Linked DNA regions of Homo sapiens: region 2 is linked to region 1. The links are contacts of gene promoters, found by promoter capture Hi-C in human tissues and cell types (Jung and others, 2019). All regions are on one chromosome and are shown on one strand. The core of a region is centred on a gene start or on the middle of the fragment in contact, and the rest is flanking DNA. Distances in the headings are between cores, read along the strand shown.

Region 1 (7,810 bases), core at 1,918-4,417:
GTTGCCCTGTGATAATATCTCAACTGATAAATAGTAGGATTATGTTATAGAGTTTTATGTTGTCATATATTTATTTTTCCTGGGAGGATTTTCAGATGATGTCTTACATTGTTTTATTATTCTCCAATAAAATAAATTAATAAGGCTAATAATAATACTGCATGTTGGGTACATTAGCAAGGCAGTTTGCCAGGGTTGTTGTTTGCTCTCTAATTTTTTTTTCATAAAAATTGTCCAAAATAAAATAAGAAACTAGCATGACCGTAAAATATACTTCACAAATAAGGTAAAAATTATACCAACTCAGCATATTACATATTCAGTATAATTAACATTATTCACTTTCCAGCAAAGTTTTTGAGTAGGTGGCAATTTTGTAAATTTAAAATTTGTAAATAGTTTTCTCTTGCAAAAGAAAATAAATGACAGCTATAAAAATCAATAGAAGTAAGGATTATCATAGGAAAATAGTTTCAGAGATAGTAATTACAAAACTGTATCAACAAGAAACAATGGCATAAGAAGATAAAGTAAATAGCTAGCTGGAAAAATGGTATACCCATTATTCTAGATATACCAAAATTTGTGGCTAAAATTTTGTTTAAGGTATTTTAAGTTTCAGATTATTCAAGTCATCCTGCTATTCAAAAAGAAAAAAAAAAGAAAGGAAAAGAAAATGAGAAAAGAAAACCCTCTTTCATTGAGTGGGGGTTTCTTGGGAGGAGAGGTGTTCACTAAATGTTGTAAACAAAACCTTGCCAAAGTCAACCCTTATGTTACTTATCACCTTCAAATTTGCTTCTCTGATTGTCAGATTTCATGCAAACTGGTTCCCTCCAGGAATCCCCCAGATGCTGTGGAGCACAGACCAAGCATGGTCTCCAAAAGACTTTTTGATTTCTTACTATACTAAATACAGGTATGTCAGGATGGTCTTCTTTAAAAATAAGGATTTAAAGTATCTAACCTATCTTATTAACATTAATGTGTAGCCAACATAGAAAAAGAACTATTCACAAGTACATCCATCTCTCCCTACATGCCCTCCTGCTTATCATGCATATCACTATAGTCAGAGTCAGAGGCCAAGATATTTCCACGCTGATGATTTAAAGCCCCTCTCATTAGCAATTGATATCTGAATGTATCACTGCAGTAATTCCCAAGGCTGTGCTGGGATGATTCACTACACATTACACTTCATTCAACTTTAAATGGCAATGAGATAAACAATTACCATTTGCCAATTACCTCATTTTCAATAGACAAATTCAGGATCAATGTTTACAGCCTTTTAGTTTTGGATGTTCAACTTCAAAAAAAAAAACATCCACATTAAACTGATCAGTACCTCAGGTAATGAATAGTAAAATAGTAGTATCCGCCATCATGCATGGTAAAACACAGCAGTGGTGATTTTGTGTGGCGCTTCAGTGGTGTGGTAGTGGCAATGGCAGGGACTTGAAGTTTTCCTATAATATTTATCATTATTATCTAAAAAAGACATACGTAATAACATTACACCTCATACATAACATCTAACACATTTAGAATATAAAAGGGAAAAGAATGGCTAGATGTAAAGATAAAAACACTTATGAAGTGACCAAATATCCACACCAACTACCATGATTAGACTAGATGTCAAAAATAAAAACTGAACAAAATTAAAGTGATTCATTTCTTTCTCATGTAAACTTTTCCAACTATCCCTGAAGCATAAGTCCAAGACTTGCTTCCCACCCAAAGATAAGACTGTGTATTTAGACTACTGGAGTGGAAATGAAATTAGTATTGCTCTCCCATATCAGCTCCAAGAAATATACAGAGTAAAAGCAATGACACTTGAACCACTAAGAAGGACTTTAGGATAAATGAGTTTCTCTGAGTCTCAACAGAAAAATGGAAGACAGTGCACAGAAGCAAGATAAGCTAGAAAGAAGATGAGGATATTCGTAGTGAAACCAACTGAGAGCATTTGTTAGGGGTGGTAGTACAGACTCCTAATTACAGGGTTAAAGCCAGCTAGGAAGATCCACAGGGTCAAGTAGAGAGCTTGAAAAGCCTGAGAAGGAGTGGGGACCTGACCGTGGTCCTGAAAGAGAACAACTTGCAGATGATAACGAACCGTCTGCTAGCAACCACACAACATCCTATCTATTTTTTTTCCTACTGTAGCTTAAATGAGCTAAATGTCCAATAATATTCGTACTCAAAAAAAAAAAACTAAAAACTTTCTCTTATCATCAAATCGTCTTTATTCATGTCCTTCTTCCTGAACAGCCTCTGCTTGAGTGTTAGGCTCATTTAAGGATTAAAAGATACGCTATTCTAGCTCAAAAGCAGGAATCAAGGTTCTGACAAACTCACAACACTTAAAATTCTACAGAAAGCTTACACTTGGCAATCCTGCATTTCTTAAACTCAGATAGAAAATCATACCTATCCGAAATATATCACGGAATGAAGCTCCAAGAAAGAACACTCCAAGCTCTCCTTTTGATCTAGGGAGCCTTGAAACTCTAGAAAGATTAGGTACACCGATATTCCCCTTTTCACCTCAGAAAATTACAACCAATTCCCTAAAGATACACCAAAATGCAGGTCCCACAGTGAATACGGGCGTCGGTCTTTCCTCAGGCTGCGTTTCAGTCCTTAACAAACCCAAGAACTCAAGAGAGCCAACTATTACACCAATACAAAGTGTTAATACTACACCAAACCATGAGGGAACAAATTTCTCCGCACAAAAGATACCTTGGCAAGAACAGAAGAAAATTCACTCCGCTGGTGCAAAAGGGAAGGTGGGAGCAAAAGTAATGTGTACGAGAAAAATCAGTCTCAGAAAATGCCATACCACTCGTTCAAGTGTAAGACTTACGTGTTCCGTCAAAACGGGTGGCGATGGTGTCCAGGAAGGTGTTTTGCGGCGCCAGTAATCCTTTCATAACCGGCATTTTTCCAGCGTGGTGTGAAATTCTCCATCAAAGTTTGTCCAGAAGGATGGTTCGAAAGGAAAGTGCCAAGAAGGGAGAAGGGGAACCTGATGACGGCAGGGAAGGGGGACCCGGCCTGACGGCGGGGCCGAGCAGGGGAAGTGGAAGGATGGAGGGAGAAAGGGAGAGAGTTCCAGCCGCCCCGGCTGTGGCAGGAGGAGCCCCAAGAGCGCTCCCCGAGCCCGCCCCGCACCTCCAGGCTCAGCCCGGCGCAGGCTCCCTCTCCCGCCCCCTCCACCCCCGCCAGCTGCTGAAACCCCCCCACCGTCCCTCCGCGGGCAACAGTGCCCGCCAGGCGCCGCCGCGCGGTGCCTCGCCCCCCACGTCGCCCGCCCGGAAAGAGCCCGCAGTGGCCCGGGGCGCCGCGCCCTGACCGACGTCTCTGGGGTCTGGGAGGGCGGCGCTGAGAGCTGGGAGAGGCGCTGAGCCTCCCGGTCTCCACGGGACGCCGGGAAAGGAGAGCGAGCGCAACTCCCACGCCCCGGGAGCCAGTGAACAAAGACCCCTTTGTTCCCTCTCCGTCCCACTCCCGGGGAGACTGGAGTCCCGTGGGTGTGGTATTGGAGAAAGGGAGGAGACAGGTCGGGGCAGGTATCCGGCCTCAACCTAGAACTTAGGAGGGGGAGGCCCCCCAGTGGTGTCCAAGGGAGCAGAGGCAGCCAGGAGCCCCACGGGGAGGCGGCCCCCTTCCGGAGCACTTGCCATTGCGAGCCCACGCGACAGGGGCAGGGCAGCCCGAGTTAGTTGTGAGGCCCATCCCCAGTCACCAGGGTCTTTTAGTCCGGGAAACTGGCCCCGAGCTCCAAAAAGGGGTGCTTCAGCCCTTCTCCCCAAATTGCCATTGGCCTCCCCAAGCCATCCCAAACTTTAAAAAAATAGCCTTTTGAACGGACAATGGATGGTTTCCCATTCTCCGGTAAAATGTGAATAAAGCATTTCTAGAAAAGTTTGCTATTTTTATTAATTTGCAAAATACCACGTAAGTAAAAACAGTAAGGCTGCCTTCCAAAAATAGCTTCAAACACAAATCCCCTAGCCTGCCCCCCTTTCCCCAGCCCCCACTCCCGAAGACTGACACCTCCAAGAAGAAAGCCTGGCGGACGGCCAGGAACTGAAGGCGTCTCAGAAAACGAAAGTGGTCTCTCCCAGTCCTCCCCCCTGGCCCCCCCCGCGGGGACTCCCTCTCGGCCAACGTTCTGCGGGGAAAGTCGCCCAAGCCTGCGGCACAGCCCTGTGGGGAGTGCAAGGGGACACCCAGAGCCCGAACTTTATAGAAAACTCTGCAAGGGAGGTGGAGTGTGGAAGGGAAGTTGAGAGCCCCAGGGTAGAAAAACAAACGTAAGCCCAGGTGCTAGTGCACCCGGAAGGAAAGGAGGGAAAAAGCAAACAGGTGTCAGAGCCGCGGCGAGGCAGCTCTGATCTCCAGGAACTCGGGCGTGGCGGGAGGAGGGAGGGAGGGCCCACCCCCCGCCCCCTTACTAAGGGGGTTTCTTGTTTCAATTATCTCGGCTGTTGGGGCTTCGGGGGGGACCCCGCGGGTTTCGTCACGTCTGCCTTGGGCTCCGGGAGGGAGGGGGAGAAGAGAGAGAAGCGGCATCCCCCTCTCCCCGCCCCCAGGCCCCCTTTCTCGTGATGCACTTCCTGCGGCCGAGGATTCCCTTTGTGTTGAAATTCGAGAAGATCCGGCAGAGGCTCTAGGCTAGCTGGGCGGGGGCGCGCCGGGGAGGGGACAGGATTCCGGAGTGGGCGGCGCGGGGCGGCCATCCCAGAAGAGAAGCTACCAACGTGGGGTTCCTCGCCCAGCTGCACCCTGCTTCTGCCGCAGGTCCGTCCCTGTCCTCCCCTCAATCCTTGTGTCCCACCCCAGCTTCGCTTTTCGGAAACCGAGCTCACGCGGGTGGAGTCCCCCACGCGGCGAGCCGATCGCAACTGCAGGTGGCTATGTGGCTCAGTCTTGGGCGGAGCTGGGGAGAAAAAGATGAGGGAGTCCCTGTTGTTTGGGTGGCGCATCGTGTCCCAGAAAATTCAGGCTGTTGCTGCCGATGTAAAACGGAGATAAACGCCACCCGTGAATTGGCTCGAAGTTCAGGATGAAATGTATTAGTTGTAAGCTATGACTGTGGTTCATAACAATTTGCACTGTAGGGCCGTGTGTGTAAAAATTGTTTCCTCGTGGTCCTGATCTGTTACCTAATATATGAAATCACTGCAAGAAGCAAGCCACATAGTGGCTTAAAAATGACAACCCAAAAGAAAGCCCCAGTTTCATGGCAAAAGGAGCCTGGCATTTATCATTCACTGTCTCCCCTCCAACACCTATTATGTGTCAGGAACTGTGCTAGGCATGGCAAGATCCCTGCCCTAAATTCAAATTCAAGCCCTGTATTCTACTGAACTGCAGTAGATGGACCTAACTATCTCTTATATCCTTTGCCCACCAAGAAGTGTTTCTTAATGAAGACAGCCATCACCACTCTGGTCTTGAGTTCCAGGCCCTTTTTAAGTTCTAGCCCGAAACCTAATGTTCATCCTAAGGGTTTGTGGCATCAGTGAGGCCAAATTGTGCCATTAGAACATGACCTCCATCCAAGTTTAAGTATATTAAATCCCTTTAAACATGTTTTGCCACCTGGAAAGCAAAGACCGTGAAAGAAGCACCATGGGAGTCTGGAGTTTTCACTATCATCTGCCCCAAATCACCAAATCTCATGTGCTTTCCTTAAGGAAATTTTCCCACTGTCCCCACTTATTGACACAAAAAAACCCAACTCATTTTGTTGCAACTCATTTTATTGACACAAAAAACCCCAACTCATTTTATAGTAGATCACACACTACAGGGATGTGATCTTTCTCTACGGACTAAACGAGACAATGCTACAAGAATACAGGATAACCACACAATAGAGTAAACTTAATGCCCTCATTAAAAATATTGATGTTCATGACAACACATGGACACAGGGAGGGGAACATCACACACCCGGGCCTGTTGGGGGCTGGGGAGCTGGGGGAGGGATAGCATTAGGAGAAATACCTAATGTAAATGACGAGTTGATGGATGCAGCAAACAAACATGGCACATGTATACCAATGTAACAAACCTGCACATTGTGCACATGTACCCTAGAACTTAAAAGTATAACAATAATAATAAAAAATTCATGTTCACAGAAAAGATATTTTTCTTTCACTTTAAAATGTAAAGGAAGGCACAAAATCCCTATAACCAGACCAAGGTACTCTATTATGTACTATAGAAGGCCTCTAGGTAAAACCAACCTAGGCAAAGTTCACTGATACAATAAACTGCCCCAAACCCTACTGACTTAAAATGTCAACAATATTGTATTTTGCTTTCAGATCTCCAATTTTTACAGGGATCAATGGGGCAGGTTATTTCTGAGTACACTTAACCTGGAACTGGAATATACACTTCCAAGATGGTTCACTCAAAGTTATGGAAATTTGGTGCTGGCTTTCAGCTGGGAGCTCAGCCAGTGCTAGGGCCTTGGGGCTTCAGTTATTGGTGTAGATCTCTCCAGGAACTACTTGGGCTTCCTCACAGCATGGTGGTTTCCAGAGTGTCTGAAGAGACAGGAAGTAGGAACTGCCAGTTTCTTAAGGCCTGATCTAGAAACGGCCAGATTGAAAGCAAGCACAGAATCCAGGTTAATCAGAAAGGGGGAAAAGTCCAACCTTTAGATGGAACAAGTATCAAATAAAATGGAGCCATGTTTTAAAATCTTCCTATCAATTTGTTAGTATTTTGAGTTTCAAAGGAAGTTGCCTCATAACAGCATTCCTTAATGTGATTAAAAATCCATTTTTACCTATTCTTTATGTCTCCATAAGCATTTGAGATTTATGGGTACAAGATCTGGGTTCAACTCTATAATTCCTTATAGGGAAAATGTAACACACAAGAGAGAAAATACACATTAAATTCACTTAAGAGTTATAAGCCACAGATAAAGCAATTTTTATTCTTATTTTATTTAAGACTGACTCTCATTAGCATTTGATGTTGTCTTTTCAGACTGACTGGAACTGGAAAAAGCTTCAGGGCTCTCTATATTAGTTTGATGGTTTTAGGTCGGCTTCACGTCTGTTTTCTAATTATAGCATTCATCCAATACCATGACACAAAATAGCTGCAAATGCCTTATTGATGCATATGTATTTGACTGTAGGCACTGAAAATATTCTTAAACTTTTTCTGGCAACAAGAATTTTAGCCTTCGCAAGAAGGCAATATTTTAATTTACAGGCATCTACTCAGATGTATTGAGTTCTAGTTTTGTTTCAACCACTTATCCCCTTTGTCATTTAAAGTTTGTGGGTTTCCATTTCCTTAACTGTAAAACTGGGATAATAATACTTTCCCTACTTACTCCACTGAGTAGAAGAAAATATTTATGAAAGCCTTTGAATCTCATAATATGTGGCATACAATAAAAGGGATGATAATAATCATTGTTCTCTTTTTTATGTTCTAACATATCTAATACAAGTTGTTTATCCACAATAAATATTGTTGACCAACTATGACAGTTTATGGTCCTGTTAGCTCAGAACACATTTATGTATTAATAATTTGTTACAACCTATGACTGGTGAGCTTTTCCTTCTAAATATAAATGACTTTAGAAGCTCAGAAGGAAAATCAAGCAGTTCATTTCTTTGACTAACGCTTTCAAATTGTTGTGCTCTTATATCCAACCAAGCTGGATTCCAGTGGTATGTTCACTGCCTCCTCTTCCCCAGTGTTCACTGCCTCCTGTTCCCCAATGGTCACTGCCTATTTCTCAGTG
Region 2 (7,810 bases), core at 2,951-5,450, 130 kb before region 1:
ACTTCACCGCTGTTATTCACTGCAGTCCACCAAGATGGGGATTTCTCCCCTAACACGAGACATAAGGAACATGAGACAAAGATAATTAAGGAATTTGTATAAAACCATTAGGCATGGTCCTCATATTCCAAACAAGTCAGTTAAAGGTTAATCAAACTGCCTTCTTTCAAGCAAAAAAAAGTCATGTATTTCTTTCTAAGGATTGTGTTATATTTCTATTTATCCACACATATTTGTGAATGTACATAATATGAATATATACTTACATGTTTGAATAATTTTATTCAAAGGATCCTTACCTTTTGTGTTTCTATCTTACAAAGAAAATATTAAAAGCAAAAACTATACACACCAATTTTCATACTTATCTTTGTGGAACTTACATTGGACAGGTACTATGCTTGCTCTAAAATTCAAGCAACTTTAATTTTAATATGGCTCTTCCCTTGCATATGTAAAATACACTACATAATTTAGTCATGCCAATATACAGCAAAACAGACATGCATTTGCAAGGCTTTCAAATGCTAGAAGTGAGAGCACCAAACTATCATATCTGTTCATTTGGGTTGTCATTTCAAGAAACATAATGTATTGAAAACAATCACACACATTTTAAAAAAGAGCTGGAATAAAAGAGTCCATTCCTAAAAAGACATAGCTGTTGAAATGTCAAGTAGCTGATTCTAAAAAAGAACTTACTACATAGAAATCCACAAAGGATAATTGCTTTTTCTCTGGTGACTAGAATCCTACTTTGGTTTAAAACAAATAATATCAGCAGTTTTTCAGTGTTAACTTTTGTCAGCTTATACAAAATGCAAAGAATTTCTTAATAAATTATAACCAGAAGATACAAGGTAAACAACACAAATTCTCAGACTCCTTTAAAGATAACTGAAAAGCTTGTTTATGTCTTAAAACCAAGTATTATATTCTTATATACAATAAGGTACAGGATTCACATTTGTTTGCAACATTCTATTCTAACAACCACTAAGCTAGAGTTCTTAACTTTGTACATAACTACACTTCGCACATCTAAGTTTTGAGCTACAGCAATCTAGAGGAAATGGAGAGATGTATTTTAAATCACATCCTCCTAAAGACACTTATCCCATCCATTAATTTTTGCCTAATACAATGAAGTGGTGTTAATCCTTACATTGTGATAAACTGTTTTCTCATCCTCCTCATATTAGCATAGGAATATGAACTTCTAGTTCCTGTCAAGTGTGTCTTTATTATAAAGACGATAGAATGTAAATGCATGTGAGTCTGTGATTTGGAATATGCACCAAATGCTGACTGCTAACAGTTACGAATATTTATCAGTTGCTGTTATTAAAAATGCATGTTTTTCTCCAAGAGTTTTTAAGTAAACAATTTCAAAATGTTACTCCATCTGTCAATGTTTTCTGAAAACGGTACAAACCTTCTTTTTTATCTTCTGGAGTAATCTTCACTTTTGTATCTGTTATATCTTTGAACGAGGCCAGAAAAAGTACTACATCTCCTTTTTCATTCTTTATGGGAACAATATCCAGTAGGCACCAAAATGGAGACCCTGCAACAGTAAAGAAAAAAAAATACAAATCAACCATTGCCTTGTGTTATCTCTATGGAAATCTCAATCATCAATAAAAAATAAAGCCCTTAGTGTTTTCTTCAATCCCACAACTCCCTCCATCTTAAAAATGTCAGTTTTCAGGTTCCATAAATTTCTATCCTATATACATCTCTCTTCATTCCAAAGGAAATGCTTTTTCTGAAAATAAAGAAGTATTTTAAACAAAAACACTTGTCTGTGCTGAGACATTTCTGCTTACATTATTCAAACTGCATTTCCTCTTTGAACTCGTTGATGCTGAAGCATTCCACTTTATGAGAGATTGCCCCTTCCCACCCCCAGCACACACTCGTTCTTCAATAAAGACCTTTGTTTGGTATGAGTTTGCCAGAGGTTTATTTAGTCAATTTAAAAATCAAAGCTTGCCCAACAGAATGCTAAAATAAAAAAGGTGAAAAGTATCAAGTTTTGGGGAGCGTGCACAGCCACTTAAACTCTCATACATTGCTGGCTGATTCAAATTAATACATCTACTTTAAACACAGGTAGTATTAAAATTTAGTTTCACAATACAACATTATACATCAGCGTGAATGAGTGACTTACAATCATTTGAAACCAAATAGATGAATATCACTAATATAATGTAAGTAAAATACGTAAACACAAATAGAATGCAATAAGAATTTGTTTACATTAAATACAAAAACAGGCAGAACTAATCTATGATGTTAAAAGTCAGGTTAACGGTTACTTTGGGGAAATTGTGATTAGAAAGGCATTCAGGTCTGGGAGTTGTAGGATGCTGGTCAAGTTTTGTTACATGATCTTTATGCTGTTTACATAGGAGTGTTCAGTTCTTAAATGCTTACATGTATTTTTCAGTAAGCATGTCACATTTCAAAAAATATTTGAAGAAGAAATAATCAAATTCCATTCAATTTTTGAGCAAAAAACCATGAGAAATGTCATTAAGATTCAAATTCAAAATATAGTAGCCAAATGGTACTGCCTAAAGCTTATATTTTCAATGTTTAAATATATTTTAAAATATGTATTTTAGAAATATGTAAAAAAATCTTGCACTGTATTTCCTACTGAAAGGCATTCTGGACAGGAATATTTGAAAATGATGATAAAGTTGTTGTTGCTTAAAAACTAAACTATTAATCTATTCATACATAATTTTCCTTCATTTTCTTTTGATGAGGGGAAAAAGACTTCAATACTGTGAATTCTTGTCTTATTTGGGTGTTGATTTCAAAGTCAGGGTATAAGACAAAAATATGAGGGTCAGAAATATCCCTGATATTTTGAGTTGTCTTGCATACACTGTATTAGACCTCATAATTTCCAACACAGCTATGTATTCATCCAGCCTTGGGATCTATCATTTTTTTCTGCAGTTAAACACCAGGTGAAGCCACTAATTTATATTTAGGAGCCATCTGATATAAAAGTCTTATTTTATCGTAGCTGCTGCTGTATTTGTTTAAAAGAATGGTTGGATGATGTATGATGTGCTGCTCTCATAAGTTACACATGGAATATAAAATATGCTCGTTCCTCTGTATTCTCCCAATAGTTTTAGAGTCATGATTTCCTCCTTATTTTTTTTTTTTTTTTAGCCCTATGGCATCCCATTTCATTCATCTGCCCCAATATCTATGCCATGGCAATCTCATTTCAATAGCTCATTACCAGGCTCTAGAAGACCTGGGATCTAACCATGGTTCTAATACTAACTAGCCATGAAACGATAGGGAAGTCGATTAACCCATCTGGAACTTGGTTCCCTTCATTGTAACATTGTCACATCCTTCACTCCAGTAGTGAATACAGTGACCCCAAAAATGCTGAGACAATAAATCAACTCAAGTGTTTGTGATTCATGGAGAAGCCTCATAAATGAGCCATACCCATAGCCAAACACTGCTATCCTCGTCATCCCAGAATGGTTCTTAATTGAAATTTTATCTATGGTCACCATTTCAGACTGGGAGCCTTTTTCAATGCTGTAGCTATGATAGAAACAAAAAGAGCCATCAGGCTAAACTAATAATCAGACCTTAGAGAAAGTAATAGTGGGGACACAAAGAACGGTATGAAATCTGACATTTTGGTTGACATTTTAAAGCACCTCTCTGTCAATTACCTTGCAAGAACATCACCAAATCATAACCGAGGCTATTAATTTTCCTGAAAATCTTCTATCTGTGTACTCAGACAAGTATCATTACTGTCTCCAAAGAGCCTTTGCATAGGTGCACCAATATATTTTGGAAAGAGCCAAAACCACATGAGGTGAAAACCAAGGAAACAGCTGTTGATATGGCAATATTCACTGATCAGCCCTTGAGGCACAGCCATCATTTCACATTATATTCTGGAATAACTGAAAGTTTACTTTGAGATTTGTCTTTTAAGTTACAGTGATGTGATCACTAACATTTTATAAATTCAATAAAACTTCATTACTTTGGATCTTTCTAAATTCAAGCTTTGGAATGATTTTACATGAACTAGGCTGATGTCTACCTTCCTAGTGCCTATATGACAAAAAAGTTTATGAGAGAAACAGTGTAAAGGGCATAAAAACTATTTCCTTCCTTCCCTCCCTCCCTTCCTCCTCCCTCCCTCCCTCCCTTCCTCCCTTATTTCCCTCCTTCCTTTGTTCCTTCCCTCCCTCCCTCCCTTCCTCATTTCCCTCCTTCCTTCCTTCCCTTCCCTTTCCTTCCTTCCTGCCTGCCTTTCTCCCTCCATCTCTCCCTCCTTCCCTCCCTCCTTCCCTCCCTCCTTCCTTTTTTCCTTTCAACTGTCCCTCCAGATTTATCCACACCAATAATCTTACGAATATTCAGGTATATTTATGCTTTTCTTTCTCAATTTTAGAAGAACACAAAGCATATACCAACTGCATTATCTTCTAGAAAGATAATAGATGCCAAAAGCTACCAATCATGTTCAATGCAAGACTCTTTATACTTAGCATGCTCGCTTATCCTTTGCTTCTCTGCTTTCCTAAATCTTTCCAGCAAGCCCTCCACCCTGCATTTCTAATGACACCTTTCACCTCTTATGAATGCAATAATTCAAGACTATTCTCCAGGATCTGGCTCTTCCTCTCTTACCTGTGGGCACAATGATCAACTCTTTCAGTCAAGAGCAATTCAGGCCCAGTGCAACAAATCTCTCTTAGGGTTAAGGTGGGAGGCTGCAAGTCCCACAGCCTCAAATTCAGAGATGTGAATGATAAGAGCAGAGTCAGAGGGCAGACATTTCATGAGAATTTTAACTCCTTCTTTATATAGCAGCAGTAATTACCATGTGGGTTGGAGAGTGTCAACACAGATGAGGCTCTGACAGGATTTAGGTTAATGACACCTTTAATTTCTATGGATAAATACAATTGTGGAGAGAAAACAAGGTTTTTACCTTATATGGAAAAATCTATTTTTGGAATTGAATAGTTACACAAAAGCTTAAATCTGGTGGAATGTCCCTTGTCTCCATTTTGGTACTTTCTTTTTCTTGATTGGGAAACAAGGATGCAGGATAATTTGACTTGCTAATATTTTTGTGTATTTCTTTTTATTGAGGTAAAACATACATACATAGTTTACCACCTGTGCCTTTTTGTTTTTTAAGAGAAAGTCTTACTCTATCACACAGGTAGGAGTGCAGTGGCATGATCACAGCCTACTTTAGAGTCAAACAATCCTGCCACCTCAGCCTCCCAAGTAGCTAGGACTACAGACGTGCACCACCACGCCTGGCTAGTTTTAAATTTTTCTGTAGAGATGGGGATCTCCCTATGTTTCCCACGCTGGTCTCAAACTCCGGTGTTCAAGGGATCCTGCCACCTTGGCCTCTCAAAGCACTTGAATTACAGGCATAAGCCACCATGCACAGCCCATCTTTACCATTTTTAAATATACAGTTCAGTGGTAATAAATATCTTTATAGATATTTTTCCCTTCATCCCCCTGCCTCCCCTTCCTAGTCTAGGGTAACCAACAGTCTACCCTCTATCTTCATAAGAGCCACTTTTTTAGCTCTCAAATATGAATGAGAACATGCAATATTTGTCTTTCTGTGCTTGACTTCTGTCACTCAACATAAGGGCCTCCAGTTCTATCAATGTTTCTTCTGCAAATGACAGAACTTCATTTTTTATGGCCAAATAATATTCCATTATGTATATATATCACACTTTATCCATACCTTGATGGGCACTTAGGTTGATTCCATAACTTGGATATTGTGAATAGTGCTGCAATAAATACAGGAATGCAGATATCTCTTTAATATATTGATTTCCTTTCTTTGGGATATATACATGGTAATGGAATTGCTGGATTATATGGAAGTTTTATCTGTGGGTTTTTGAAGACCATTCCATACTTTTCTTCATAGTAGCTGTACTAATTTTTGCTAATATTTATAATTATTAGAGAACTCATATGCTTTCCAGACAGCACTAAAATATATTTGTCAATAGATAAAAACTCATAATAGCTAACTAATAATAATGTTTCTAGTATGGGTTCATGGTTTAATAACTTAATACAAGGAGGTGCAGGTATAAGGAAAACTGAGTTGTGAGTGGTCCCACTCTCTTTAATGACTGTGCTGTCATGATGGGAAATAGTGCATTGCTCAATATAACACAATAGGTCAAAGTGAGATATGGACACATTTGATGTTCTCTTGTTTCTAATATCAAGCAGGATTTTGAATAAATTTTTAATGATAAATACATAACATCTTTACTTTTTGAAATTATAGCAACAATAACATAATATCCCAAGGGTTAAGAGCATCAGGGTTATGTGACCTAAACATTTCCAGGTGTTCCTCCTAGTTCACATTAAGTCTGATGAGTCTTGTTCTCTACAACCATTGTCTCAGTGCTACTTAATGATAAAATAACAGGCTTGCCAGTTTTTAGAAATTAGTCCAGAGAAAATACATACATGTATACACACACACACACACACACACACACACACACACACATATACATATTGGGGTGGGAGTGGGGAAAGAGCTGCAGGTGAGTAAACAAGGCTGCTATGAATTGTGGCTGGGTGAAGGGACACTCATTTCTTCAGCAGAAAGAGTGGGGCAGTAATTCAGTCCTAACTGAATCTACCAGAAAGCTCCAAGTTACCCCTCCACTTTATTATATTTGCTACTGTTTTGTTCGGTTTCAGTCATCTCTTGCCCACTTTTCCAAAGTATTCTTCCTGCCTCTAGTCTTCCTCCCATGCTACTGCCAACAACCTTTGACAATACAGGATCCCGATTAAAAACACCTGACGGCTTTTCACTGTTTGCTCAAATCAGCACAACATTCCAGACTCTAATCAATATGGAAAGTGTCTTTCAAGGGACTAGAAAATACGGGAATGTGATGGACGTGCAAAGAGGTGAACTAAAAAAAGGTGTCATGTTAAAAAGGAGGGGAATGTTCCCTGGAATACCCAAAGCTGCTTGGCAAATAAGTCTCTACAGCATCGTCACCAGCCCTTCCTGATGTTTGTACTATACTAAGAGATGAAAGTAATGGTTCTTTAGAAAACATGAGGTAAAAGCTTCACCTTATCTGCAGTGAACATTTCTTCCAGGGACCATCTATCTACAATGCAGCTCATATAGGCTGCAAGTCTTTGCTCAGTCCTCACTGAATTTACGTCGGGTCAATACCCCTCCTCCAAATGCCCCAGGATACTAGTGAGCCAAAGTAAATGGCACTGGTTTCCTGACTCCCTGTGTAACAGTGGAGGGCAGCGTGGGGGGTAGACAGGAGATGAACTGACACAGCTGGAGAGCTCCCTGAACTGGGTGGTGGCTAAGGATACCCTTCATTTCAATGTTTAATGAAAAATAAAACACACTGTGTTTTAAACTTCTTTTTGCGTTAAAAACAGATGGGTAGAATACGCATACTATATTGAGTTGAAAAAACACTGGCAGAATAAACATAAAATCCACAATGGTGGATTGTAAATTATGGTTTAATTTCCTTTTCTTTTCAGCATCTTTATTTTCAGGTTTTCTAGAATAAGCATGAAGAAATATATAGTAGGATTCTGTCAACTCCAGTGATTTGAGGTAGAGATGTAAAGAGTTCAAGACTGGAGCAATAAGAATGATGAGATCATATTTCTGGGGAATAATTTTTTATATATTCTTGATAATTTAAAATATGTTCTAATGGATACTTCCATTTCAAAC

What was found. The method cuts DNA at HindIII sites, captures the fragments that hold promoters and counts their contacts. A contact is called where the count stands out against the background at its distance.
Region 2: a contact is called between a fragment that was not itself captured here and the fragment with the promoter of KCNH8 in region 1, in 2 of the 25 tissues and cell types used here (H1 embryonic stem cells and dorsolateral prefrontal cortex).

The regions. Positions count from the first base shown.
Region 1 is chr3:19,143,867-19,151,676 of GRCh38, reverse strand. KCNH8 (potassium voltage-gated channel subfamily H member 8) reads right to left here and starts at 3,167. Exons shown (of 16, transcript NM_144633.3): 1 at 2,882-3,167. The coding sequence starts at 2,957. RefSeq lists enhancers at 3,725-4,318, 4,319-4,912 and a silencer at 4,606-4,777. The HindIII fragment of the contact is 8,005 bases long and covers 848-7,810 here.
Region 2 is chr3:19,274,955-19,282,764 of GRCh38, reverse strand. It overlaps KCNH8 (potassium voltage-gated channel subfamily H member 8), which reads right to left. Exons shown (of 16, transcript NM_144633.3): 3 at 1,436-1,567. Among named protein-coding and RNA genes, the nearest start is that of MIR4791, 36 kb to the left of the region's middle. The HindIII fragment of the contact is 3,819 bases long and covers 2,291-6,109 here.